7 separate regions of the Homo sapiens genome follow, and all the other regions are linked to region 4. The links are contacts of gene promoters, found by promoter capture Hi-C in blood cells and fetal thymus (Javierre and others, 2016). All regions are on one chromosome and are shown on one strand. Each heading gives the region's core, a stretch centred on a gene start or on the middle of the fragment in contact. The rest is flanking DNA. Distances are from core to core; before and after follow the strand shown.

Region 1 (3,550 bases), core at 250-2,749, 390 kb after region 4:
CAGTATTGGAGGTCTTCACAGAATGTGTGTGCATGGGAGAGTGGTCTCTGGAAAGCCACAAAGTTGCCCCAAAAGAGAAGGGCTCAGCATTTGCCAAAGGTCCTTTGACCATTGAAGAATTACAAATGACACCACTTTTGCCCCTTTACCACTGACCTCTCCTTCCATCCTCAAGAGGAAGAAATAGAACAAGGAAGAGAGAGAGAGAGAGAGAGAGAGAGAGAGAGAGAAAAGACTACTAGCTTCTTCTCATTGCAGATGCCTTGCCTGGACTTGTCTGATTTAGAGGAAAAGAGAGAGGCTTCAAACTGAATGTGAGATGAAAGTTTGGATTTGTATCATACTAAATACCTGAAGATGAAGTTGTCCTGATGAAATAGGCAGGAAAGATTTGGGGAAAGCTATCGGTTGGGCAGAGATATCATGTCAGGGGCAGAATATCTAACAGAGAGGGAATGAAGACAGAGGTAGAAGAAAAACAAAGCTGTTTCTTGATTGTTCCACACCTTTCAATAAACTAATTACATGTGAAGAGTGTCTGACAAACAGTAGGTGCTTAATGAGTGATAGCCATTGTAAATGATGTCTAAGTCACTAATTTCAGTTATTAACCTGGTCCAGCTGGTCTTTTTTATTTTTATTGAGAGCACTGTAAATCAGAATTAACTTTGTTACTTATAACCCAAAATGTCACAGTTGCTGACCAGTTGGCCTCTCCCCCTCCCAATTCTCTCTCTCCTCCACTTGACCCCACCCTCTGGTAACAGACTGGCCTTACCAATATGAGGTTTGGATCATTTTTCTCCCTGCCCAGTGGCTCCCCAGTGCTTAGTGGTTCGATTTCCTTAGCCTGGCATCCAGGTCCCCAGCAAGCAAGAGTCAATCTCCCTTCCCTATCAGTCAATTTCCTCTTCTTTTCAGAACAGAATTATTTGCTGTTCCCAAGCACTTCCTTGCATGCATGCCTCCCTCAATTTGGGGCACTCTCCTCTCTTTAGCACTTCCTGATAAAATCTTATTCTTCACAGCTCTGCTCACCTGTTAACTTCCCCATAAAACCTCCAAAATTCTCTATCAGAAAAGATGTCTGTTTTTTCTGAGCTCTCATAATGCTGTCTTTGTATATTTCTTGTCACCTAACAACAGCTCAGTCCCCCCACCCTACTCCTTATTTCTTGCTCATGAACTCCATAATGGTACAGTACAGGTATTGACAGTTGCTATGGTTTGAATGTGTTCCCCAAAAAGCATGTGTTGAAAACTTAATCCTCAATGCTGCAGTGTTGGTAGGTGGGGCCTAATGGGAGTGCTTGGGTCATGGGACCACTGCCCTCACAAATGGATTAGTGCCATTATTTCAGGAGTGGGCTCCTTATAAAAGGACAAGTTTGGCCCCCTCTTGCTCGCTCTCTCTCTCACCCTCTCTTTGCCCTTCCGACATGTTATAACTCAGCAAGAAGGCCCTTACCAGATGCAGGCCCCTCGGTATTAGACTTCCCAGTCTCCAAAATTGTGAGCCAATACATTTTTGTTTATTATAAATTACCTAGTCTCAGGTATGCTGTTATAGCAGTACAAAACAGACTGAGACAATGGCATTATGTTTAGAGAAAAAGAGCCTACGTCCAGGAGATAAATCATGATAAATCTGTGCCAGACATGATAATCTTATTCCCTTTTGCTAGTTATTGGTTGAGAGGTAGGTTTGTGTCCCAGTCTGGCCAGGGATGCTTAACAACTTGCTCTCTAATTGAAAAAGAAAAAAAAAATTCTAATTTATAGCTAGTTTGCTGATTTCTATTGTATAAATACTATCACAGACAATTTCAAGTCACCAGCATGGCCTCATTGAACAGGGAGCTGGGAGAGACGTGCTGTAGCCCATTATTTTATAGTATTTCCACCACGCAGATGCAAGAAACATAAATAACAAGAGCATAGATGATAGCTACCTGTAGTAAAATAATTAAAAAAGTGATGCTGATATACTTTGGATATTTGTCCTGGCCCAAATCTCATACTGAAATGTAACCCTCGATGCCGGAAGTGGGGCCTGGTGGAAGGCGATTGGCTCATGGGTGAGGATTTCTCATAAATGGTTTAGCGCCATCCCCGTGGTGCTATCCTCATAATAGTGAGTGAATCCTCACAATATCTGGTCATTTAAAAGTGTGAGGCACCTACTTCTCCTCTCTCCCTCTTGCTCCTGCTTTTGCCTGTACAGCCCGCAGAACTGTGAACCAATTAAAATTCTTTTCCTTATAAATTACCCAGTCTCAGATATTCCTTTATAGAAAAGCAAGAGTGGCCTAATATGGATGCATTTTGAGTATCAACTACCAAGTTTTCTGGAAAGTTAACAACTGGCCCTTACAAGCCAATACAAGCCAACCCTAAAACACCACTGGCTCTAGCCAATGAAATGTAAGAACTCTGCTTGAGGTTTCTGGGTTTATTCATCAGTGTTTGTTGCCTTGTGCTTCAATAACAAGCAACCCCCAAATCTAGCACAGAACATCGTACATGAAGGTGTCATGATGGCCTCGTGCACACCCATGCACAGAGAGACAATCGTGTGAACAGGCAGCAAGAGAGCGGCCAACTGCAAGCCAAGGAGAGGGCCCTTACCAGAAACCAACCCTGCTGACACCTTGATCTTGGATTTCCAGCCTCCAGAACTGTGAGATAATACATTTCTGTTGTTTAAGCCACCCACAAATATGCCTCTGCTCCCTGAAGGATGCAGGGTTCAAAAGTCCACTCATTCCAAAGGCCCAGAACCAGCCCAAGATGGTCAGAGAAGATGGAACCTTACTAATGCCCCTTACATGGCACTAGCAGGAACCACTGAAAACTTGAGCCAAGTCCTCACATCTGTTCTTTGACCTCTTCTTCATCAACTGCTTCTGTCTTTCTCTCCTGTTCTCTAATTTCAATGACTTTCCTCAAGCACAGAGGCAGCAGCTGCAACAAGAGTACAGCCAGTTGAGGCAAATATACAAGGTGGGCAAGAGAGAACACAAATGGCTAAGGGACTTTTAGCCCAGCTGAAAAATTCTCCAGGGGTGGAGCAAACAGATCCCAAGACCTAATTCTGCAGGTGTTTTCTTGGGCACCTTCCAGGTGTAAGGTTGCCAGATAAAATACAAAACGCCATTTCAATTTGAATTTCAGATAAATGGTGAATAATGTCTTAGTATAAGCATGTCTTGGGCAATGTTGTATTTTTATTTGTGTACTCGGGCAACCCTAACCAGGGGCTGTCAATGGGGTGGGTGTAAGGCAGCAGAGAAGAAAGACCGAGAGATGAGAAATTACATATGAATGAGGGCTGCACTACAGCTGCGCATGCAAAGGACACGACCGGGGTGGTCACATAAAAGGCACTGCGCCCATCTGGAAGGAAAGAAAGGAGTGCCTCTGACCAATGAGTCTCTGTCACCTTCCCAGACTTCTGGCCCTCATTTGGAGCCAAGTCCAAGAATCCTAGCTATGGCGTTTTCCTATGGCTGCTGTAGCAAATGACCACAAACTTAGTGGCTTAAACAGA
Region 2 (3,802 bases), core at 881-3,380, 410 kb after region 4:
TGTTCTTTGCAGGAACCCATATTTTCATTTCTCTTGGCTGTGGGATTAGGAAGCATTCCTTCACTCTGTAACATATAAGGAAGGTGCTGCAAAAAAATGGAAGTGCATTAGTTGGGTGTGGTGGCGCGTGCCTGTAATCCCAGCTACTTGGGAGGCTGAGGTACACGTATTGCTTGAACCAGGGAGGTGGAGCTTGCAGTGGGCCAAGATTGCACCACTGCACTCCAGCCTGGGCAACAGCGAGACTCTGTCTCAAAAAAAAAAAAAAAAAAAAAAAACAAAAGGAAGTGGCCCATCTCTCTCTGCCTATCCCAAGTGGCCTTGCCCTGGGGCTTTGGTTCCACAGCTCATAGCACACTTCTTCCCTACCCTGGCTGCAGGCATGTTCAGGTCCAGTCACCTGCCCTGCTGCCCCTGCTCCTGCCCACACACCCCTGCACATCCACAGTCCAGCACCGTCCGTTTACACAAATGGGCTTCTACAGAGGAGGAGCTGGAGCAGGGAATGGAGACAATCTCATTTCCTGGGCCTGCTTCCTCGTGTGCCAGGGTTCAGGCTCAGATGTGGCAGGTTCTCTTTGTCACAAGCCCTGACTCACGAGACCTCGGTGGCCTCGGGAAGCAACAGGTATAGGGGTATCATGCTGCTGTGTGGGCCTCTGGCAGCCCCCCTGTGACCACAGCCAGGCTGACCCAGACAGACTAATGGGAGATTTAAAAAAAAGTCAAGGCACACTGCTGAGATGCAATTTTATAATCAGCCTGTAACTTGATTATCTCAAAAATAAATGAACAATCAATACCGCTAATCTCAGCGTATTCCCCTGCTGAGACAGGAAACTTGAGCCTGGCTTGTGTTTGGCTACCCATGTCCCTCTTCTGGTTCAAAGGAGTCTTCTGTTTAATGTCAACATTTGCTTTTGTACCTTTTTATGTATTTTCATTACTTGCTTCTGCTTGTCCTTGCTTTGCGTGAGAAAAACCCAGTGCGGGGGCCCTTCTAGTCTAGCTGGTTCCGCATTTGTGAGATCCTGCACACCTGTGTGACCCTCAAACTCTGACTTGTCTCACGCTGATTAGGACACATCCAGGGGAGGAAGGAGTCAGTGAGCTTGTTTAGAAACATGGCTTGCTGATGGCCACACCTGTTCCCCAGGGAAAGCTGCCTCCTAATGGGCAGGTGAGAAGGCTGGTGAGGGGAGGAGGGGCAATAAGCCCTGATGCATCCTCCATTCCGGTTCCATTATTGACTCAGGGCTCTTTAAATTCTACGTCCTTGACTTTCTGGCTCCATCACCAGCAGTAACTCAGCCTGTCTGTGCTGTGTATCGTGGAAGGCTCCACTTCATCCTTTTCCCCCCAGGATTCATTCCCTCTACTAAAAATCCCCCTCGTTAGCCTTCTGTGGCTTGAAATGCCTCGGTGTTTTGCAGGGATTCAAATTCCTAGCACAATCTCCCTTGAGCAGAGCGTCTGTTTCTACAGCAAAGGCAGAGAGATCTATCTTAACTTCCTCCCAGCTCAACTTTTATATTCTCGGCTACCCCAGGAGCTTCCTGAATTTTATGCAGCTTAATTCATGATGATAAACATGGGTTCTGGGAGGCTGAGAACAGGGAGCATTCACCCTTCTTACTAGAGAATACAGATGGCTGCTCAGACATGGGTGAAGGCCCCTCACCTCCTCCACCAAGGGATAAGTCTCAGTAGGGTGAAAATTCAGCCACCTTCCTTCCCATGTGCAGGTCTGCCTTCCACCCCAAAACACAGCTGAGTTTCCACATTGCCCAGATCAAACCTAGAATTAGCTGAGGGTCAACTTCATGCCAGGCACTTTTCATATTCAGTTTTTTTATGTTTATCAGCAACCTCAATAAGGCAGATAACATTACCCCATTTTACAGGAGGAAACTTAAGGTTAGAGAAATATAATAAAGTGAGCTGTCCAAAAACCACAGAGCTGGGAGTGAGGAAGCTTGAATCTGATAAAGTTCAAAGATATGTGCCTCTCAGGTTCATGTTCCTTTCCCATACCATGCTCCAACGGCCCCTACAATTCCCCAGCTCTCACATCATTGACATCGTCCCCTTAGTCACATCATTTAGCTTCTCTGTGCCTCAGTTTCCTCATCTATGAAATGGGTATAAGAAGTCCTGCTCTCCGGAGTTGCTGTAAGTTTTAGAAATGCAATCAGGCAGGTAAAGTATTTAGCACACTTTCTGGCACCTTAGGTGTTTAGCAAGTAGTGATGATGATTATTTTCTAGTAGCAGCATTGAAGCTTTTGATAGCAGTCATAGATCATAGAAACTTCCAGCCAGAAGTCACCTTTGAGCCCATCTATCACAATCTTCCCCTTTACAGAAGAAACAGAGGCCAGAGTGTCTAGCTGACCTTCCTAAGCTCAGAAGGTGAGGGGCTGAAATGCAGGCCTGACTTGGGAAAAATAAAACAAACAAAAAAACTGTTTACGCCTGTCCCCTGAGCTGCCTAGCTGTATTCTGGGTCGTTTGGTCTTTTTTTCTTTTTTTTTTTTTCTTTTGGTGTATGGGCTGGTGGGCTGGGAGGTGAGTGCAGGAAGATACAAATCACAATTGAAAAAAAAGTGGCAAAGGAAAGGTAGTTACAGGCTAACACCCCTAGACTGCTGGTTCTCAAAGTGGGGTCTCTGAATTCGCATCAGCTCACCTGAAACTTCTTAAACAGTTTCTTGGGCTCTAATCCAGATATCCTGAATGAGAAACGCTGGGGAAGGGTAATCTGAGTTTTAACCCTCAGGTGATTCTGTTGCAGGGTCATGTTTGAGAACCGTCACCTAAGGCCAAGGAAGGAAAATAACTGGTGTCTGTGCATAGTCTCCATCTCACACACCAGGCATCACTGCTCATAATGCCCTTTAGTTAACCGCAGATGCAGCCTCTGAATCCTTGTTTTTAAGTTCTGGGATACATGTACAGAGCGTGCAGGTTTGTTACATAGGTATACATGTGCCATGGTGGTTTCCTCCACCTATCAACCCATCATCTAGGTTTTAAGCCCTGCATGCATTAGGTATTTGTCCTAATGTTCTCCCTCCCCTTGCCTCTGACCCTCCGACAGGCCCCATTGTGTGATGTTCCCCTCCCTGTGTCCATGTGTTTTCATTTTTCAACTCCCACTTACAAGTGAGAACACGCGATGTTTGGTTTTCTGTTCCTGTGTTAGTTTGCTGAGAATGGTCCTTCTTGACACACAGCACTCCTGACAACCATCACCACTACGGGCCACAGGGAGGCAATGGAGATAGTCATGTGTTAATCCACACAGAGAAAGAGTCACCTCCCTGGACTCAATTATCCATTCCGGGAGCAACTCCTGACATTTCTGCAGTCATGTTCAAGCCCAGAGCCTGGTACAGATCTGGGCCTGTTCCAAGAACTTGGTTTTCTTAACTGTGCCCTGTCTCCTTGAGTACTGGGCTTCCCTTGCAAAAGCAGGAGCAAAACTAAAACAAACATGGAATGGAGAGCAGCTCAACTGGGCGAGGCTGGGTTTGATCAGCAGCCGGGCTGTGGACCAGCTCAGAGGCCCTAGGTGAGTCTCAAGCCTCACCTGTAGCTCCCCCGTAACAATGAAAACCTGTGAGGTGTAAGGAGAGCAACAAAGGCTTTTGGAATCAAATTTTGGTTTCTATCCCAGTTCTGTCGCTTTTGAACTGTGGAATCTAAGGTAAATTACTTAAGGCATCATTTTCTAACCTGTAAAATAGAAATAATAACACCTGCTTCTCTGAGCGGTTTGGAAGATTAAATAAGATGATATA
Region 3 (3,467 bases), core at 586-3,085, 430 kb after region 4:
ACAGCTAGAAGCTTATGCATGTTCCATGGGAGGGAATCAAGATGGGAAGGCAAAGCCCCTACCCCTACCTTAACACACCTAGACCAGGGACTCAGCATGCCCATCAGTGTGTATGGGCATCTCTCTGCAAAGGAGTTTCACATGAAACCATAACTGTCTTATTAAATCATCTGCCCATGTCATAACCTCATGAAAGCCTTCTGAGTAAATGTAAAACATTAGCTTTCAAAGCATGTCATCATTACTATCTTCGGAAACCACGACATAAATCTGATGAGATTTTGAGCCTTCACCCAGAAAAATGCTTTGTCTATACAATGTTTGCACACAATTTCAGAGGATTCAATGAGCACTGAAAATCTATTTTTGGATATCCTGAGGGGCTCTTTGTTCTTCAATTAAGAACCCTGGAACTAGATGTTAACTGTTTTCTCTGAGAACATTTTCATAATTTTGAGTTCTTCCTTGAGGAAGGATTGCTTGCATGTCTGAGGATTGTGTGTTAAGGATGCTCATACCTGAGATAAATATCTGTGTATAGCTTCATGTATTTGTATATAATTAACAGCAAATGAAAATTTCATATTTTTGCAAGCTGCTAACCTCACAGTTTGTACATTTTAGATTTCACCAGTAATTTAAAAACATACCTGAAATTGAATTATTCTTTCTTGAGAAAGGCACAAATACATTCTTTCTGTATCCTTAAGGTAAAATGCACATTTATGGAGTTGTGACACAGGATCATCTGCATCCAATAATGCGGTCTGCTTATCAACTTTCCTAATTATCTATATTTAACAATTAAGAAATAAAAGGTCATCCACACATGGAAAGGATTTTCCTTGTGTAAAACATCAAAAGTACATAGAAGCTATATACTGCATAATAATACATCACAGTTATTTGTCCTATGCCTACATATATAAAAACATTCACAAACAAAAAGACTAGGAATAAAAAACACTTTTAGATTGCAAGCATGTCAGAATGTAGAAACTGTTACCCTCTTCCCTGAACATCTAAAAAAAAAAAATCAGGCAGGCAGGCACTTGTTTTCTAGATCAGTGTTTTTCAAACATTAATGTGCACATAAATGAGCTGGGGTTCTTGTGAAAAACACAGGTTCTGATCTAGCAGGACTCTTGTGGGGCCTGATATTCTGCATTTCTAACAAAATCCCAGTTGATGTTAATGCTGCTGGCCTACAGACCATATTTTGAACAGCAAGTTCTAATGATATTTTCCAATAATATGCATAAAATGACAAATACTCCAACATCAAAGGGAAAAATCTCTAGAAGGCTACTGTCAGTGCAAACGTCTTATATCTATTATCCAAAACTTACGTATTTAAAAACATAACAAAATCAAACTCATTTTACAGATTACAAAATGGGCTTAGAAAGGTCAGACAAATTGCTCAAAATTACCAGTTTAGTAGCTGAAGGACCAGAATATGTCCTGATCCCAGGGCTGGCTGCCTGTCCAACTGATCTCTAAAGCTTATAACGCAACTAGTCTACAAAACACATGAATATCTGAAAGATAATACTATCAAACCCTATATGACACTTGACACCTAGAAGGTAATGGCTAAGTAGATGATCATGATGAAGAGCAAAATTTGACACAGAACTTTTACTCTGTTTCCTTTTCTATTGATCACTTCCAACAACATACAAACATAACTATCTCTCATCTCAAAATCAAAAGTAAAGAAAACACTGACTACATGCTCCTGTCCCTCCCTCTCACTACCTGTTTTTCTGCAAACGCCTCTTCCTCACTGTCCAATCTCCTGCAATCTCTCCAACCTTTTATCTCAAAGACGCCACTACAACTGCTTTTCAAAGCCACCAAGGATTTCCAGACAGATGCATCTCACGGCACTTTTCTGTCCTCATTTTACTTCATTTTCTCAGAAGCTCTCAACACATTTTGCTTTCAGGACCACAACTGCTCCAACTGACCTTTAAAATGCCCAGAGCTGAGTTCTCAGCCCTCTTTTCCTCTCTTTATAATCTATACTGTTTAAAAATTTAAAGGTTGACAACTCCCAAATTTATTATCTCCAGACTTCTCTCCTGCATTCAACTTGTATGTACACTTAACTACCTATTCAACATTTCCACTTACGATGTCTAACAGGCACCTCAAGCTTAGCATATCGAAAACAGATTTTTGGATTTCCTCCTAAACTTGATCCTTCCCCAACTCATCTAGGTCAATAAATGGCACTAGCATTCACTCAATCCAAAAACCTTAAGAGTCACCCTTGATGCCTTGCTTTCTCTCACACCCAACCATCCAATCTGCCAGCAAATTCTGTCAGGTCCACTTTCCAACAAATCAGTCACCCCTCACCACCTTAATACTATGATCCTGGGTCTAAGATAGCATCAACTCTTGCCTCAATTATGACAACAATCCAAGCACCTGTCTCTCTGCTTCCACGGCCGCATTGCTATGCTCTCTTCTCCACACAGCAGCCACACATATACTTCTAAACAAAAATAGGCCATCGTGCCCCGTTTAAAATCCTCCAGTGGCCTTCTAACATGCAGAGATAATATGAAGTCCTTACCCTAGATACAGAGAGGGATCCTACAAGGTCTTGCTTAGTGCTAACCTTACAGATTCAGTTCCTGCCACTTGACCTCTCCTCCCTCCGCTCCAGCTCCACTGGTTTCTTTACTAGTCATCATACATCCCCTGCCTTCAGTTCTGTACTTGTTCTGTTTGCCTGAAATGCTCCTCACTCAATTACCGGTTCTTTGACTTCATTCTGGGCTCTCTTCAAATACTGCGACTTCAAAAAGACTTCCCTGACCTCTCTAAGCGCTCCTCCAATTCTCTATCCCTTTATTATCTTGTTTTGTTTTTTCATCACTACATAAATCCTTTACATGGGTATTTGGCTTATCACTCTATCAAAATGTAAACTCAATGACGAGAGGCACTCGACTTTGCATGTCAGAATTCCTGTCATGAAACCCCTGGAAAGATTTATGTATCAGCGTCTTAATAATGGTACTGCAACTTTTTCTAATAAGTTAATTTTTCATTGCAACATTTTTATATAAAGCCATACAGTTTTGAGTGTAAAAACCTCAATTAATGACTTTCAAGCAAGGCAGGCTACTGGTACTTTACAAACAACTGTAAATGAAAACATTGTTTTAAATTTGGGTCTGTCTTCTAAGTGGTTTGTATTATAAACTATTGGTGATCAGAATCATCCTCCTAAGTTGTGCTTCTGCAGTACAAGCATTTAACACCAAAGCAAATGAACATCATCCTTGGAACAGAGGAAATGAATGAGAAGAGAAAAAAAATGAATAAATGCTGATTCAGATTTTTTGCTTGCTTCTGTCTCCTGCTCTGTTTTTCATGCCCTTCATTCCCTAACGTTACCCTTTTTATTATAATTTGTCTCAGCTGCAAAGCTTTACAGATTACTATTA
Region 4 (3,629 bases), core at 720-3,219:
TATTTGGAGAATAAATACTATTCAAGCATAAAGCTGTCTGACCTATCTTCTCACTCAAACTGTACTATGCTCCTAATACTGATTATTCTATAATCACTTTATCCCAGTTACCCAATTGGTAGGTTTGATGTATCAAGTTCCATTTAATAGGGCTTGATATGCTTCAGGGTAAAGTTAAACATGCTGACCATTATGTTCTATACTCTACATCCTCCAAAGCTTTTAAAGTTTACCAACATCCTTCTTCTCTCTAGAATAGTAAATATCCTATCATAGAAATCAGAGAAACTGCTTGGCTTTAAAGAATACAGTTCCTGAGCACTTGTCAGAGAAGCTGTTAGTAACTTCCAGACGCCCGCAGGACTATCATTTTGGTTAAATTAATCACGGGTCATCTTCTGCCACTTTAAACTTTTTAGTCTTACAATTATTGTAGGAAATCTACAGATCTACTTTAAAAATAAGTGAAATACTAAAAAAAAAAAAAAAAACCATTATTTTAGCTCCATTACTTTTCCCAAAGAAATCATTTCAGGGTCCTTATATAATAACTTTTACTTAAACCACAACTGATCAGTTGTACATAACACCGGAAGGCTTTAAAAAGGATACAATTCTGCACTTAACCTTACAAAACACGTTTCCAAGTTTTCAATTATGAGATCGTTCTATATATTAAAAAAAAGGTGCTAGTGCAGTCTATCAGAACTGTGCTGCCAGCTGCAAGCCCCGAGTATGCTGCACTTTGCAAATTTTAGGTATAATTTCTGGTTACCTGCTGAGGTTTCTACACCCTTTGTCACCCAGTGATGCTCCCACCACCAAACACTTTCCATCACCACTTAAAACGGCCTCCTTCCACCCCGCAAAAAATGCACTGTAAACTTAGGCATTTCTGCATACTAACACGGAACCACTAATATCACTAGGTATTATGGCTCTCAAAGAATCCCCTTTAGCAGGCTCCCCTGGGACGCTGTGCTCAAGCGGAGCTTTGAACCGGTGAGACTCGCTGCCAGCTGCCTTTGCAAAAGCAGCACCAGAGGTAGACTCAATACCGCAATGCTGCTGCTGACTTTTTCTAGCAGCCTCAAAAAAAAAAAAAAAAAAAAAATCAGCCCAGTCCCCTGCAGACCCTGCTGGCACTTCTGCAGCACGAAAGAGAAACCACCGCATTGCTCAGCTTGGAAGATCGGAGAGCCCGACTGAAGGGAGGGGAATCAGTGCCGTCGAGAGGCTCGGCGAGGGCGGGGTGTCGGGGTGAAAAGGAAAGACGTCCGGAGTGCAGGGGACCGCGACGAAGCAGCAGGCAGGGCTCCGCATCGCGCCCTGGCCGGAGCCGCGGAATAGCGGACGTCCGGCGGAGATGCTGACCTCTGCACGGGTTGGGGGTCCCATCGCTGCCGGCCGAGCCCCGCCCGCCGCCCCCCGGCCCCTCACCTGTCATGAGCGCCGGGCTATCGCCGGCCGCCGCGGCGGGAGAGGAGGCGGCAGTTGCGGCAGAGCCAGTCGCCCGCCGCCCGCGGAGGTGCCGGGGCACAAGCTCGCATCCGTCCGCCGCTCCGGCTACCAGCAGCCCGAGCACCAGCAACGCAGCCCAGCGCCGCCGCCGCAGCAGCCAGCCCCACGCTGGGCCAGGAGTCGAGGCGGGATGAAGGCGCCGAGGAGAAGCCGGGTGAAAGCGCAGCGGCGCCCCGGCCGCCTGCAGCTCGCCGGCTCCGCGAGGCGCCACCACCGCCGCCGGCGACTCCTCCGGCCGCCCCCGCCGCCTCAGACACGGGCTCCCGCCGGGCGCCAGCCTGGTCCCATCGGCACCGGCGGCCTCCGGAGCTCTGATCCCGGCTGCGTTCATTGGTTCCGGTTATTTAAAAAAAAAAAAAAAAAAGGTGGGGGGTAGAAAGGTACGGCGTCTTCAGGCGGTGCACGACACCCGCGCTGCTGCTGCGGCGAGACCGGGATCCGCTGCTCTGGCGCCGCCAAACACCAACCCCAGCTCCCGCGCCGCCGCCGCCGCGGCGCATCCCCCCGCCCCCTCCGGCCCGCGCTGGTCGTAGTACCACGCTCCGCCGGGACGCCTCCCTCCCCTCGCACATTCGCTCGCATACCAATCCCCCGCCTCCCTCAGGCTCTCCACGGCGCAGGCGCGGCGCTGCTGTACTGCGCGTGCGCGGCATCCCAGCCCCGCCCCGGAGGCGTTCCTAGACGGACGGTAGTACCGTGGGGCGGCTGATAACGCTTTAGCGAGCCGCGAAGATAGGAGGCGGGGAAGAAGGGGGACGTGTACCTCTCCCTCATTCACGGTACCACCGCGAGGGGGAGTGGGGGGCTACAAGGGGACGGAGAGAAGAGTCCAGACGTCCCACATCCTGAGGGCGAGTTTCAGCCTCGTAGAGGGCAGCGAAAGTAATTGCATGGATCAGGAAAATCTTGCAATCGGAAAACAGCAGCGTCCCCGTAATTTCAATATAGGTGGGGCTTACAAGTGGCTGGCTGTTTAGACGCGGTTAGCATAGCTTAGCGTTTTATTTACTTGCCAAACATTTCACAAAGCGCGTGCTATGTGTGAGTGTACCAGGCATTGCTCTAACCGTTTTACACATTTACATGCTATAACTCCAAAATTATCGTTACCCCCTTTTACGAATGAAGAGACTAAGACCTAGAAATGTGAAGTAAGTTGTCCCCAATATCCCACAGCTAATTCATGGGAAATGAGCGAGATTTAGCAGCCACTGAAAAGGCCTATTTAAGAGAATTTACTTTAGCCTCTGACTCTCCTAGGTACATTTACCTGAACTCATCACCTTCCCACCCCCATCCCATCGACTCTGTGCTGTATCCTGAACCGGCTGACAGAACAATGATGTAGACTTGACTTGTTTTCGCCAACCTGGAATGAAGCAAAGCTCTTGTGCACCCAAGATCTGCTCTCTGTTGTAAATCCTGTTCAGACCTGGTCTAATTGGTTTGAATAAATAAAGAACCGGAATCTTTCTCATCCAAACTAGTTGCCAGCATATTTTTAAGGCCACCTCCCTTCAAATTTAAAAGGAAGTGTTGAATGTACTGTCACTATAAATTAAAAGCCCTGGAAATTCACACGCAAGGAGGCATTCTTTCTCCCAGGGGCACAAAATTGTTTAAAATTTGCAGATAGGGTTATTAAACACGAAGATCCTTTTGCTATTGGGTTTTGTTGGTTTCATTCTGCTTATTGGTTTGTTTGCTTGCTTTCTCAAGCCAAGAAGATACTCAAATTACATTCTCCTAAAGTATTTCTTAGGTAGCCTGGCCAAGATAACCACAAATATCGTTTATTGTGGAAGGGCAGATGCACACTTTAGAAAAGAATCAAGGATGTCTTTGAGGCTAAGTCAATCTATCAACAGTTATTTCTCAGCAGACTTCTTGTGGGCATAGTGTTCAGGTGGCAATTCTTTATAGGGCAACCGGGAGATTATATTTCCCCTGCTGAAAGGCACAGCGATGAAGTCACACCAGAGTGCTGAGTGCCCACCAGAGAAGATAATTCTGCTAGGGGACCAGAACAATATAAATAACAAGCTTGTTCCTGCTCTCCAGGAGGCATTTCATTTATTAAATGTTTACTGAGTACCTAGTATGTGCCA
Region 5 (3,610 bases), core at 278-2,777, 490 kb after region 4:
ATCAAATAATCTCACACTTGGATATCTACCACTGTGAGAAAAATCTGGTGAATTATTACATAAACTCTTTCCACATTTTGCTTCCTCAAAATCCAGGTTTTTCTACAAAAACAAACAAAGAAAAAATCCCAACACTTTTATAGTTATTCTAGAGCTTCCGTCTCTGTAAAATAGGAATGTTAATTGTTAGCAATCTGCAGAGCTATTGTGAAGACTGGGTAAATCATTTGGTAAGGGAAATCTTGTAAGCGCAATATTGATTCATTGTTAGCATAACACACTCAGATATTCTTGGCCTTCAGATGTACCAATCCCCACCTCACAAGAGTTCAGTGATGACAAATTTCTAGAAATTGAAATCATTTCAAAATAAGATTACCTTCTTATATATCTAGCTATTCTCTCAGTTTGTAAATTAAGAGGTTGGTAAATAAGAGTATGACCTGTTCTGCCATGACAAGATAGATGCATGTCTTAAAAACCTAGTAGTATCAAAAGTTCATTCATTTGGCTAATATTTGCTGAATACCTGTTATGACTATTCACTGTCCCAGGGGATGGAGTTACAGGAGTCAACAAAATAAGCAAAATCTGCTAATGAGGGTAGGGGAAAGAACAGATTTGGAAAGTAGACCAAGGATTGAAAATTGGCTCCCTACAGAGATAGTGACTGTTTATTTCAAATATGAATGCTTTCAGTGTGTTCTGCTTGCACCCAGTCACCCCCCATTTTATAAGCATATTTGTGTCATTTATCTCTGGCCTATCCCTGCCCCAGGGCTAGAATTTCTCACTCAAGTTAGTTTTTCCACAGAAAATTCAACAACAAAGGAGTTTATTTAAAGTTAAATTTCATGCACATTTGATTAATCTAGCTGCTTAGCTGCTGCCACCAACACTTCTACAGGCATTTTTAATCCCCTCACCACCCTTGGGTGCCATCTCTGGCTACTGATCTCAGTTTGGGGCCAACTAAACTAGAATGCAGTTTAGTTTCCTTCTAAAGTACACTCTAGGCGGAGAAATTTACCAAAGAAAAAGAATACACGCTGCTATCATGCATGATGACAACCAAAGGAAAGACACAAAGCTTTGAAGAAACAAATTCCACAGAGAGACAACACAAAACCTCGTGCTTCCAACAGGATAACCAGTATGAGGTGGAAAGCAGTGACAATGAAGTGAGTAAACATAACTTAAGGGGGAAAAAAAGCAATCCTCTTACAATGCCAAAAAGCCAAAACAACGCTATGGAAAAGAGTAGGAAGAGTTGGATAATCTGGGAGAAGACAAGGGGTTAATGTGGAATAGGGGGAATCTGGTGAAACAAAGCAACAGAAAAAAATGAATTCAATTCTTCCATACTCTGAATCCATATGTTTTCATTTACTGCCTCCACCACTAAAGATGTATGCCTGCACACATCTGTACAAAGACAAGCAACCATCATCAGGGTAGTTAACACACTGATTGGGAGAGGTTATTTATCTTCTGTAATTTCAAAACGTGATTTCTGAAGAGCATATCATGCCCAATTCAGAGAACTGAACTATGTACTTTGACTAAATTTCCAAGAACTTGCAGAAAAAGATGAATTATGCATATTATCTTTTGTCCTCCTCTTTTGGCAAATAATTCTTCCATTTTTCAACTCCCAAGTGTAGAAAACTAATGTACAAATTCCACTGCTGTGAAACAATTTACCAGAAGTCTTCATCTTTTCACTGTTTTCTAAGGAGAAAGAAACTATATTTTAGACAATCTTAAAATATACATATGCTGATACCACCCTGCTTTGAAGCCTTATTTATTTTAAAATATTCACCAGAAACTCTGTGATCATCCTCAATAAATCTATAAAGCAAACATCTGCTGTTATGAGGACACTGCAGTAGGCACAGGAACTAATCCAAGAAAAATAAAATTTAAAATGTTACTGAAATCTTCACAAAAACAGAAGCTTTAACATTTGAACATTTAACTGCCTTCAATATTTGTAATGTATTGGATTTATGCTTAATTTTTTGCAACTTTAAATTTTATATTTGCCTTCTGAATTGAAGAAGCACCTATTATACAAACAAGTCCTAACATATAAAAAGTGAAACTGAGAGGTTTTATTTTTTATTTTTTTGAGACAAGAGTCTTGCTCTGTTGCCCAGGCTGGAGTGTAGTGCCATGATCTTGGCTCACTGCAACCTCCGTGTGCTAGATTCCAGTAATTCTCCTGCCTCAGCCTCCCAAGTAGTTGAGATTAACTGCATCTGGTTAATTTTTGGATTTCTAGTGAGATGGGGTTTTCCCATGTTGGCCAGGCTGGTCTTGAACTCCTGACCCCAGGTGGTCTGCCCACCTCGGCTTCCCAAAGTGCTGGGATTACAGGCGTGAGCAACTGCACTTGGCCTGAACTGATAGGTTTTAGCGTGCATCATCATTTTATTTGTATTTTCTTTTTATTTTATTAATTAATTTATTTTTTTGAAACAGAGTCTCACAACTGTCGCCCAGGCTGAAGTGCAGTGGCGCGACCTCAGCTCACTGCAACCTCCACCTCCAAGGTTCAAGAGATTCTCCTGCCTCAGCCTCCCGAGTAGCTGGGATTACAGGCGCCTGCCACCATGCCTGGCTAATTTTTGTATTTTTAGTAGAGATGAGGTTTCACCATATTGGCCAGGCTGGTCTCAAACTGGTGACCTTGTGATCCACCTGCCTCGGACTCCCAAAGTGCTGGGATTACAGGCGTGAAACACGACGCCCGGCCTATTTGTATTTTTTTTTAAACTGCATGAGTCTCTTACATCAATGCAAAGCAAGGGTAAATCCTTCCACAACTAGGATGTATTGTAAATTTCCTATGTATGAACCTTTAAATATTTACCAAGACAGACTGGGGGCGGTGGCTCATGCCTGTAATCCCAGCACTTTGGGAAGCCGAGGCAGGCAGATCACGATTTCAGGAGATTGAGGCCATCCTGGCTAACACGGTGAAACCCCGTCTCTACTAAAAATACAAAAAATTAGGCATGATGGCACGCGCCTGTAGTCCCAGCTACTCAGGAGGCTGGGGCAGAAGAATCACTTGAATCCAGGAGGCGGAGGTTGCAGTAGAGCTGAGATCATGTCACTGTCCTCCAGCCTGGGTGACAGAGCAAGACTTGGTCTCAAAAAAATAAATAAAAATAAATACACATATATATTTACCAGGGCAAACAAACACATACACATCACAAAACAATATAGCAACAAAAAAACAAAACCAAAGTTTTATAGCAAACTAACTGTTCTCTACCATCAGAGATAAACAAAACAAAACAAAACAAAACAAAAAAAAACTACTGATCTGGTAATATTTGTCTTAAATATCTGAAGCTTTTGTGGCTGAGGTCAGCTTGGCAATATGAATTTATTAGACTGAGTTTCATAGTTTTCCAGTTGATAATCACTAGAAATTAGGTCTCTGCAATCCCATACATACACATGCCACTGACACAGAAGTTTTAGAAAGGTATATATTGTGTGATACATTCATAATATTTTCTATTTTGTTCTTTTCTGTTTCATTAGGGGGTAGGGGGTTCACGGGAGGCAGCAACTTGCTAAATTGATTCCA
Region 6 (3,768 bases), core at 439-2,938, 260 kb after region 4:
AGCAATAGAGGCTGAGTGAACAGACTGAGCAAAGGCATGAAAATGGTTTTGTACAATGTTAGTTTATGGAACAGCAAAAGATCCAATAGAATGTAAGAATCAAAAAGAGTAGAAGGTGAAGCTAAAGCACTCACTCCAATTCCTATCTAACCTGCTCATCTGTGTCAGATTAATGTTCCTAAAAACCAACTCCATGCCTTCACCCTCCTCAGAATATTTCATTCAAGTATTTACATCCCTCTAAAACTCTAGTTCTACTCAACCTAGATAAGCTTATTTCTCTAGAAATACCCTATAAGAGAGACCCTCTGCTTAGCCTTCTTACTGTTCCTACATTGGGAACTCACTCCCATCTTGTCACCTTGAGTGCTATCCAAGACTTCCCCAATCTCTAGCCATTTCCTCTCAGTATATTTATACCTTATTCATTTGCATTCTTCTTTCAATATACTCAGTAACTGGCACATAGGAAGTGTTCAATAAATACAATGGAATACTATTCAGCCCTTAAAAAGGAAGAAAATTCCAACACACACTACAACATGAATGAACTTTGAAGCCATCAAGCTAAGTGAAATAAATCTTTAAAAAGACAGATACTGTATGTTTCCATTTGTATGAGGTACCTAAAGTAGTTAAATTCATAGAGACAGACCGTAGAACAGTGGTTACTACAGGTTGGTGGGAGTGGGGGAGAAGGAGAGTTATTGCTTATATATGTCTCTCTCTATGTATATATGTATATATATATATAGACATACACAATATATATAAAATATATAAACAAAAAGCTAAAACAGAAGTGATATTTTAAAAGGATATGTCCTTTCTCACATCAATCCCCGAAATATCCTTATCATGAGCTTAATTGTTTTGTACTTTTCTAATTTCTCTCAAGAGCCCAACCTACCACAGATGAGAGGCTCAATTAAAATATGTTGAATTACTACTATCTTTATTTCTTCCTAATACTTATGGTTCTTTCTAAAACTGTAGACTGGACTTGTTTCTGTAATCCTAGTCATCCCAGTGGACACACATTGTAGCCAGGAATAAGCTCTAGTTTCAGATGGAAAGTTCTGGCTCTGCAAAAGCTGACCATGCCTTATACTCAATCTGCACTGTATAATTTCAGCCCTGCTCTGGTTTCTCTCACCTGAGGATGGATCCCTCACTGGTTTTCTTTTGCTGACATCCCCAAGCTGACCCCCTTCTCTTCCAGCACTGGCTGTCTTGTCCCCTATTCATCCGCATCTCTATTCTTAGCCTCCTTTCGTGGTATACTCTATGCCTGAAAGTATTCACTTCACATTTAGTAACCAATTTTCCACCTTTTATTTCAACTTGGTCTTACCTAATTCAACCCTACATGACCTTCTATAAACAATGCAGTTTTCTCTAAAAGCTGAAATAAAACATGAAGAGATGTACTTAAACCAAGCAAACCCACATTTTAGTACTTCTCTTATCCCTTACATATGTATTTTCTATGGAGACAGGAACTTTCTTATTTTATAATCCTGTACACCATTATTCATTTCTTTACTGTGTTTAACTTTTCAGGATTAAAGGACAAACAGCAGCCAAAATAAATATGGGTAAGTATCACAGCACTCCATGGTTCACACCAAATGTAATCAGGGTTCTTGACTTAGGACAACAACCTATTAGTTGCATTATTCCTTCTCTCTTCAAAGCCTATCTTCTTTCAGCTTCCTTCCTTTTGCAATTCTATTATTTATAATGACAATCTGAGCAACAAAACATATTAAACACTTAATGGAATGAAAATAACATTTGGGGTATTACACAACATCCATTTGAAATACAAATAATGCATGATAACATAAAATAACATTGCTGATCTGATGCTAATCACCCCATCATCTAGAAGATGAGTGAGCAAATTCTTTTTTTTTTTTTTTTTTTTTTTTTGGAGAGACAGAGTATTGCTTTGTCGCCCAGGATGGAGTGCAGTGGCGCGATCTCAGCTCACTGCAACCTCTGCCTCCTGGGTTCAAGCAATTCTCCTGCCTCAGCCTCCTCAGTAGCTGGGACTACAGATGCACGCCACCATACCCAGCTAATTTCTTTTGTACTCTAGTAGAGACATGGCTTCACTGTGTTGCCCAGGCTGGTCTCAAACTCCTGAGCTCAGGCAACCCGCCCGCCTTGGCCTCCCAAAGTGCTAGGATTACAGGCGTGAGCCACTGCACTTGGCCAGCAAATTCAATTTTAAGATGCAGGTTGACTTCATAAAGTAACTCAGAAAACGAAAAACATAGCCCTTTTCTAGAGAACACAAAATTCCACACTCTCTTTAACAAACTTCAACACATAAAGGGATATATTAAAATACAGTCAACGTTTAAGAGAAGAGCTAATGGTGGGGGGTGGGGAAATCTAAAAATCACTTATATTTGGCTGTGAAATATTCTGTGTGATTTTATATTTCCAACTAAGTTGGGCCAACACTGCTCTAGCACTTTCTGGATATACCCAAACAGATAAAACGAAGGCAGTACAGAAGATGCTGGTGGCAGGAAAATGCCCTCTTGATTAAATTTTAAAAGGCTTGTAACAAACCACCAGTTGTTTAAAAGTATATTATTAAAGCAGATTGTAAAGTTGCCTTTAAAGAGTTATTTCTATTAAATGTCAGTGCTAATGGATATAAACTAAGGCAAAGTTGGTATCACAGATTCTCTTACAAGTCCAAGATTATTTTTAAAGATACATAATCATATTCTTTTAAAGTATGAATCTATAATATTATAGATCTGTCTAATAAATCTACATTGATTTTACAAATATACATATATATAATATAGATGTTATTTTATCTTAAGAACCAGCCAAATACTTTTTTGAGTTTCTTGTGTAATCATCGCCAGACTCCTGCTTTATCCTTCTTTCTATTCTTGCCCAACTTTCTATTTTGTCTATTTTCTAACTTTCTAATTTTCTATTTTTTCTATTTTTTCTTTCTATTCTATTTCTTTCTATCCTTGCCCAACTTTCTATTACTTCAAGGATTCACCTCCTGATGTTATATGTACAGATTCATAATCCTTTTTTGAAATCCTGAAACCTGAAAAGCTTTGCAAACCAAGTTTTTTCAAAACTGAATTAGTGGCAAAATCTTTCCTGACTTGAACTCATGTGATACTAAATTGACAGAAGTATATTTAGGGCCGGGCGCGGTGGCTCACGCCTGTAATCCCAGCACTTTGGGCGGCCGAGGCGGGCGGATCACGAGGTAAGGAGGTAGAGACCATCCTGGCTAACATGGTGAAACCCCGTCTCTACTAAAAATACAAAAAATTAGCTGGGCGTGGTGGCGGGCGCCTGTAGTCCCAGCTGCTCAGGAGGCTGAGACAGGAGAATGGCGTGAAACCGGGAGGCGGAGCTTGCAGTGAGCCAAGGTCGTGCCTCTGCACTCCAGTCTGGGCGACAGAGCAAGACTCCGTCTCAAGAAAAAAAAAAGAAGAATATTTAGTCATTTATCATACATAGTGTAAAAATTCATGCATTTTGCTGCAGAAATATTAATGTATACAATTACAAGGTACTGCCGGATCCTGATAGGGATATTAAATAACATAAAATATGCATGAATTACCTTTCTATAATTTAAAAAATAATATGAATTCCTTAATATCTGGTCCTTAGATTTTGCACAAGGGAATGTATGGACTGTATATACTTATTTGTAATACTATCATCTCTTCATGAGAGCAAAAACGATTAAAATATGGTTAAGAATGA
Region 7 (3,368 bases), core at 829-3,328, 450 kb after region 4:
GAGGTTGCAGTAAGCCAAGATTGCACCACTGCACTCCAGCCTGGGCAACAAGGCGAGACTCTGTCTCAAAAAGAAAAAAGAAAAATAAAAGCTACTACAATAAAAGATATGGTTAAATTTTCCATTTTAACTTGACAAACCACTACAGCTCTCTATATATGTTGGATCTTTTTCTTTTTTAGACGGAGTCTCACTCTGCCGCCCAGGCTGGAGTGCAGTGGCACCTCGGACCTCAGGTGATCCGCCCACCTTGACCTCTCAAAGTGCTGGGATTACAGGCATGAGCCACCATGCCGGGCCGTATTTTTTAACAGTAACTAACAAACAGGAACCTTATCTGGACTTTAACACAATTTTCTAAATAGGTCTTCCCCTTTTGTTATCTCCAACGGGCCTCAGTTATACATCCCGGTATTAAATGACACAGTGACTTTTAAAACTCCTAGTAAAGGTCCTTTTGCATAAAACCTAGCACACAATAGCCAATCAGAAATAAAGAATAAGTGAATTCAATTGTACTAAAATGCATCTTCAAAAATCCAGAGAAAAGAAAAGCAGCTTGCCTAAATTTGAAGCTATATGATAAACACACATCTATTCATAATTCAATTGGGCTAGCCCAATCTCACCTAGGTAATGGAAAAGGGTTAGTCCTAGGCAAAGTTAAGTTTACAAAGTTTAAGTATTTAAAGGATCTTTTCCTCCTCAATCCCTGCTCTAGATAACCAACACTCAAACGCAAATGGAATGGTATGGCAATTAGGGTAGTAAAAAGGGTAAATATTTAAAATTAGGCCCTCAAGAGTTCCAACCCTAGCTCCACAGATTCCTAACTAATGTCAACCTGGACACATTTAAAGTCTCTGATTTTCAGATTCGTTGCCCACAGAATTTGGATCATAACATGACTACTTTACAAAATTGTTACGAGGATTACAACTTTAAAATATTTATAAAGCACTTTGGGAATCATGTCTGGCTCATGATTGGAGCCAATATGAAACTGTTTCTACCTCGGATTCACTATGAGGTGCACAGCTGGCCTTTTAGATTCTTCCTCCATAATGATGGGTGTTAACTTTTTCTGTTTTGCTTAAAAAGCAGAAAACTTGCTATAAACACACACTAAATTTTATTTATGAAAAAAAAAATACTGAATTTCTAATATCAACTTCGTGGGAAAAAAAAAAAGGACCACTAATTTGAGTTGGTACGCTATGTCCCAAACTACAGATACCAACTTCTTCCCATCTTTAACCCTAAATCAGTGTTTAAGTTGTATTAGTAAAGTACGATAAAATAATCAGAAATTTAGTAAGCCTGAATAACAGTACCTGGCAGTATGAATCTTAAATATTGTTTTCACTTGTTCATCTTTGAGGATTAAAACTACCAATTAAATAGCTTTACCTTCTTGGCCAAGCACGGTGTCTCATGCCTGTAATCCTTTGGGAGGCTGAGGCAGGCGGATCACTTGAGCCCAGGAGTTTGAGATCAGCCTGGACGGCATAGTGAAACCCCGTCTCTATAAAAAATACAAAAATTAGCTGGCCATGGTGGTGAGTGCCTGTAGTCCCAGCTACTCAGGTGGCTGAGGTGGGAGGACCACCTGAGCCCAGTAAGTGGAAATCATACCACTGCACTCCAGCCAGGGCAACAGAGACCCTGTCTCAAAAAAAAAAAAAAAAAAAAAAAAAAAAAGAAAGAAAGCTTTACCCCTCTTTTCAGCTCAGATCTAGTCAGCTTCAAGGAACTTCCTAAAAATTCTCTTTTAACATGTAAATTAATTTAATCACATACATATTACATTTCCCTTCTCTTAAGCATAAGCTGAGGTTTCCTTTATGTCACAATCTCTAAGAATTCTACTCATTCCTTTCACAACAATCCCAAAACCTTAGTTTTCATTCCTTTTCTCTTCAGTTGGGTACCTTTCTAGCCAATTAAAAAACCTTTGATCTTTCTCCATAAGCAGGCTTTTTCCATGGAATGCTTAACCAAAAAATGCTGTTTGAAAGACAGACTCAAGAAACTATTCAAAGAAAATTCCAGGAACCAAGTGAAGAAACAACAATGAAAGTCCCCAATTAAACATAAAAAATGCGGAAATTTATAGAATACCACAATAAATAATTTTTTAAAAATCACCTTGTTGTAATTTAATTTTGGTTAATCTACTTTATAGGTAATTTCTGTTGAGTCCACATTCAAGTAGTATGAGAGTATGAACCCAGTTTTGCTGTTTCTTCTTAATAGCAACCCAAACAAGAATAGGATCAAGAGAGAGGGCCAGGAGTTTTCTTTATAATCATTCCATAGCTCAATTAACCTAAGCTCAAGACAGTTTTAGGATCAAGAGCTTATTCAGCCTTTTCCTTTGCAAAACGGTACTTTTGGGGTCACATTTGCGTAAAAAACTACATTTTCCACCAAAAAGAAAGCTTCTTTGTGAATAAGCTAATGTATCACATAAGTATTTCGGGGACATTATGTAGCCCAAAAGAAAAACTGTGGATTATTTCATTTTGTAAGATCAGGGATTTATTAACCAGATGACCTTTATTAAATTACCCTTCTGGCTTGAGTGTATGTAGAAAGTAGAAAAGTTCCACCTTCAAAGCTCGTCTTGGTTTGAAAATAAAATAACAGACACTAGAAATCATAGCTTCTTACTCTAAAGCCTCCTATCAACTATCAGTTCTTACACTTTAGCCCAATTAGTTGCTTTGGCTTATTCAGGCATGTCTGGGCAGGCCCAGGCAAGTCTTAGCTCATAGCTTATGCCCCTTCCTTATTTGGAAATGTTATTGCTTTCTTAAACCTTTTGTAAGCAACTTCCTCTCTTCTTTGTTCTCCCTTGCACTTAACGTATTTAGGAAAGTTTTATGTTAGTAGCAAATCAGGTATCAGTTTAATACTGTGAGGTCCAGCTCCAGCCAATGGATGCAGGACACAGCAGTAAGGATGACCCAAATGCGTAAGGGACAAATATGTCTGCTTTTCCTTTGTTCAAGTGTGCTCTCTCCATTGTTCCATCTGCGAGGGGCACCCTTTCTGCAGAAAGTAAAGACTGCCTTGCTGAGAGGTCCTCTGTCTCCATGCTGACTTTTCTTCACAGCACCAATTATCTATTCCTAACAGTATACCACAATTCACTTTGTTTCTCCCCTTCAGGAGACAAATCCCCTATTTTTTATTTTGTACTAGCAAATGAACCCAGTAATAGAAGCCATCCTCTGACATGTATATTAATACATAATTGGCAAATTCATGTGGTAACTACAATTAACTATCCACCAGAAAAATAATCTTACCTTTTTTCATTTCCATATGACTTCTGTGCAACTTTTGCATGAAGAATAAGTACT

Evidence for each region. The method cuts DNA at HindIII sites, captures the fragments that hold promoters and counts their contacts. A CHiCAGO score of 5 or more calls a contact.
Region 1: a fragment that was not itself captured here is called in contact with the fragment with the promoter of STIM2 in region 4 in 1 of 17 cell types (total B cells); the score reaches 5.7 in total B cells.
Region 2: a fragment that was not itself captured here is called in contact with the fragment with the promoter of STIM2 in region 4 in 2 of 17 cell types (fetal thymus and M2 macrophages); the score reaches 6.6 in fetal thymus.
Region 3: a contact is called between a fragment that was not itself captured here and the fragment with the promoter of STIM2 in region 4, in 1 of 17 cell types (fetal thymus). The highest score is 6.9, in fetal thymus.
Region 5: a contact is called between a fragment that was not itself captured here and the fragment with the promoter of STIM2 in region 4, in 1 of 17 cell types (total CD8 T cells). The highest score is 5.9, in total CD8 T cells.
Region 6: a contact is called between a fragment that was not itself captured here and the fragment with the promoter of STIM2 in region 4, in 1 of 17 cell types (fetal thymus). The highest score is 5.7, in fetal thymus.
Region 7: a fragment that was not itself captured here is called in contact with the fragment with the promoter of STIM2 in region 4 in 1 of 17 cell types (fetal thymus); the score reaches 7.1 in fetal thymus.

What each region holds. Positions count from the first base shown.
Region 1 is chr4:26,468,301-26,471,850 of GRCh38, reverse strand. No RefSeq gene overlaps it. Among named protein-coding and RNA genes, the nearest start is that of CCKAR, 20 kb to the left of the region's middle. The HindIII fragment of the contact is 7,217 bases long and covers 1-3,550 here.
Region 2 is chr4:26,450,097-26,453,898 of GRCh38, reverse strand. No RefSeq gene overlaps it. Among named protein-coding and RNA genes, the nearest start is that of CCKAR, 38 kb to the left of the region's middle. RefSeq lists an enhancer at 490-1,028. The HindIII fragment of the contact is 306 bases long and covers 1,978-2,283 here.
Region 3 is chr4:26,426,044-26,429,510 of GRCh38, reverse strand. It overlaps RBPJ (recombination signal binding protein for immunoglobulin kappa J region), which reads right to left. Exons shown (of 11, transcript NM_015874.6): 8 at 651-791. Among named protein-coding and RNA genes, the nearest start is that of CCKAR, 63 kb to the left of the region's middle. The HindIII fragment of the contact is 656 bases long and covers 1,508-2,163 here.
Region 4 is chr4:26,859,181-26,862,809 of GRCh38, reverse strand. STIM2 (stromal interaction molecule 2) reads right to left here and starts at 1,969. Exons shown (of 12, transcript NM_020860.4): 1 at 1,441-1,969. The coding sequence starts at 1,591. It overlaps STIM2-AS1 (STIM2 antisense RNA 1), which reads left to right and starts at 2,211. Exons shown (of 2, transcript NR_134674.1): 1 at 2,211-2,300; 2 at 2,782-3,186. RefSeq lists silencers at 1,273-1,842, 1,853-2,222 and an enhancer at 2,313-2,412. The HindIII fragment of the contact is 3,345 bases long and covers 222-3,566 here.
Region 5 is chr4:26,365,995-26,369,604 of GRCh38, reverse strand. The region is part of intron 1 of RBPJ (recombination signal binding protein for immunoglobulin kappa J region); the gene reads right to left. Among named protein-coding and RNA genes, the nearest start is that of RBPJ, 47 kb to the right of the region's middle. The HindIII fragment of the contact is 870 bases long and covers 1,093-1,962 here.
Region 6 is chr4:26,598,118-26,601,885 of GRCh38, reverse strand. The region is part of intron 1 of TBC1D19 (TBC1 domain family member 19); the gene reads right to left. Among named protein-coding and RNA genes, the nearest start is that of TBC1D19, 16 kb to the right of the region's middle. The HindIII fragment of the contact is 2,827 bases long and covers 275-3,101 here.
Region 7 is chr4:26,406,217-26,409,584 of GRCh38, reverse strand. RBPJ (recombination signal binding protein for immunoglobulin kappa J region) reads right to left here. Exons shown (of 11, transcript NM_015874.6): 3 at 3,315-3,368. Among named protein-coding and RNA genes, the nearest start is that of CCKAR, 83 kb to the left of the region's middle. RefSeq lists an enhancer at 2,667-3,368. The HindIII fragment of the contact is 731 bases long and covers 1,713-2,443 here.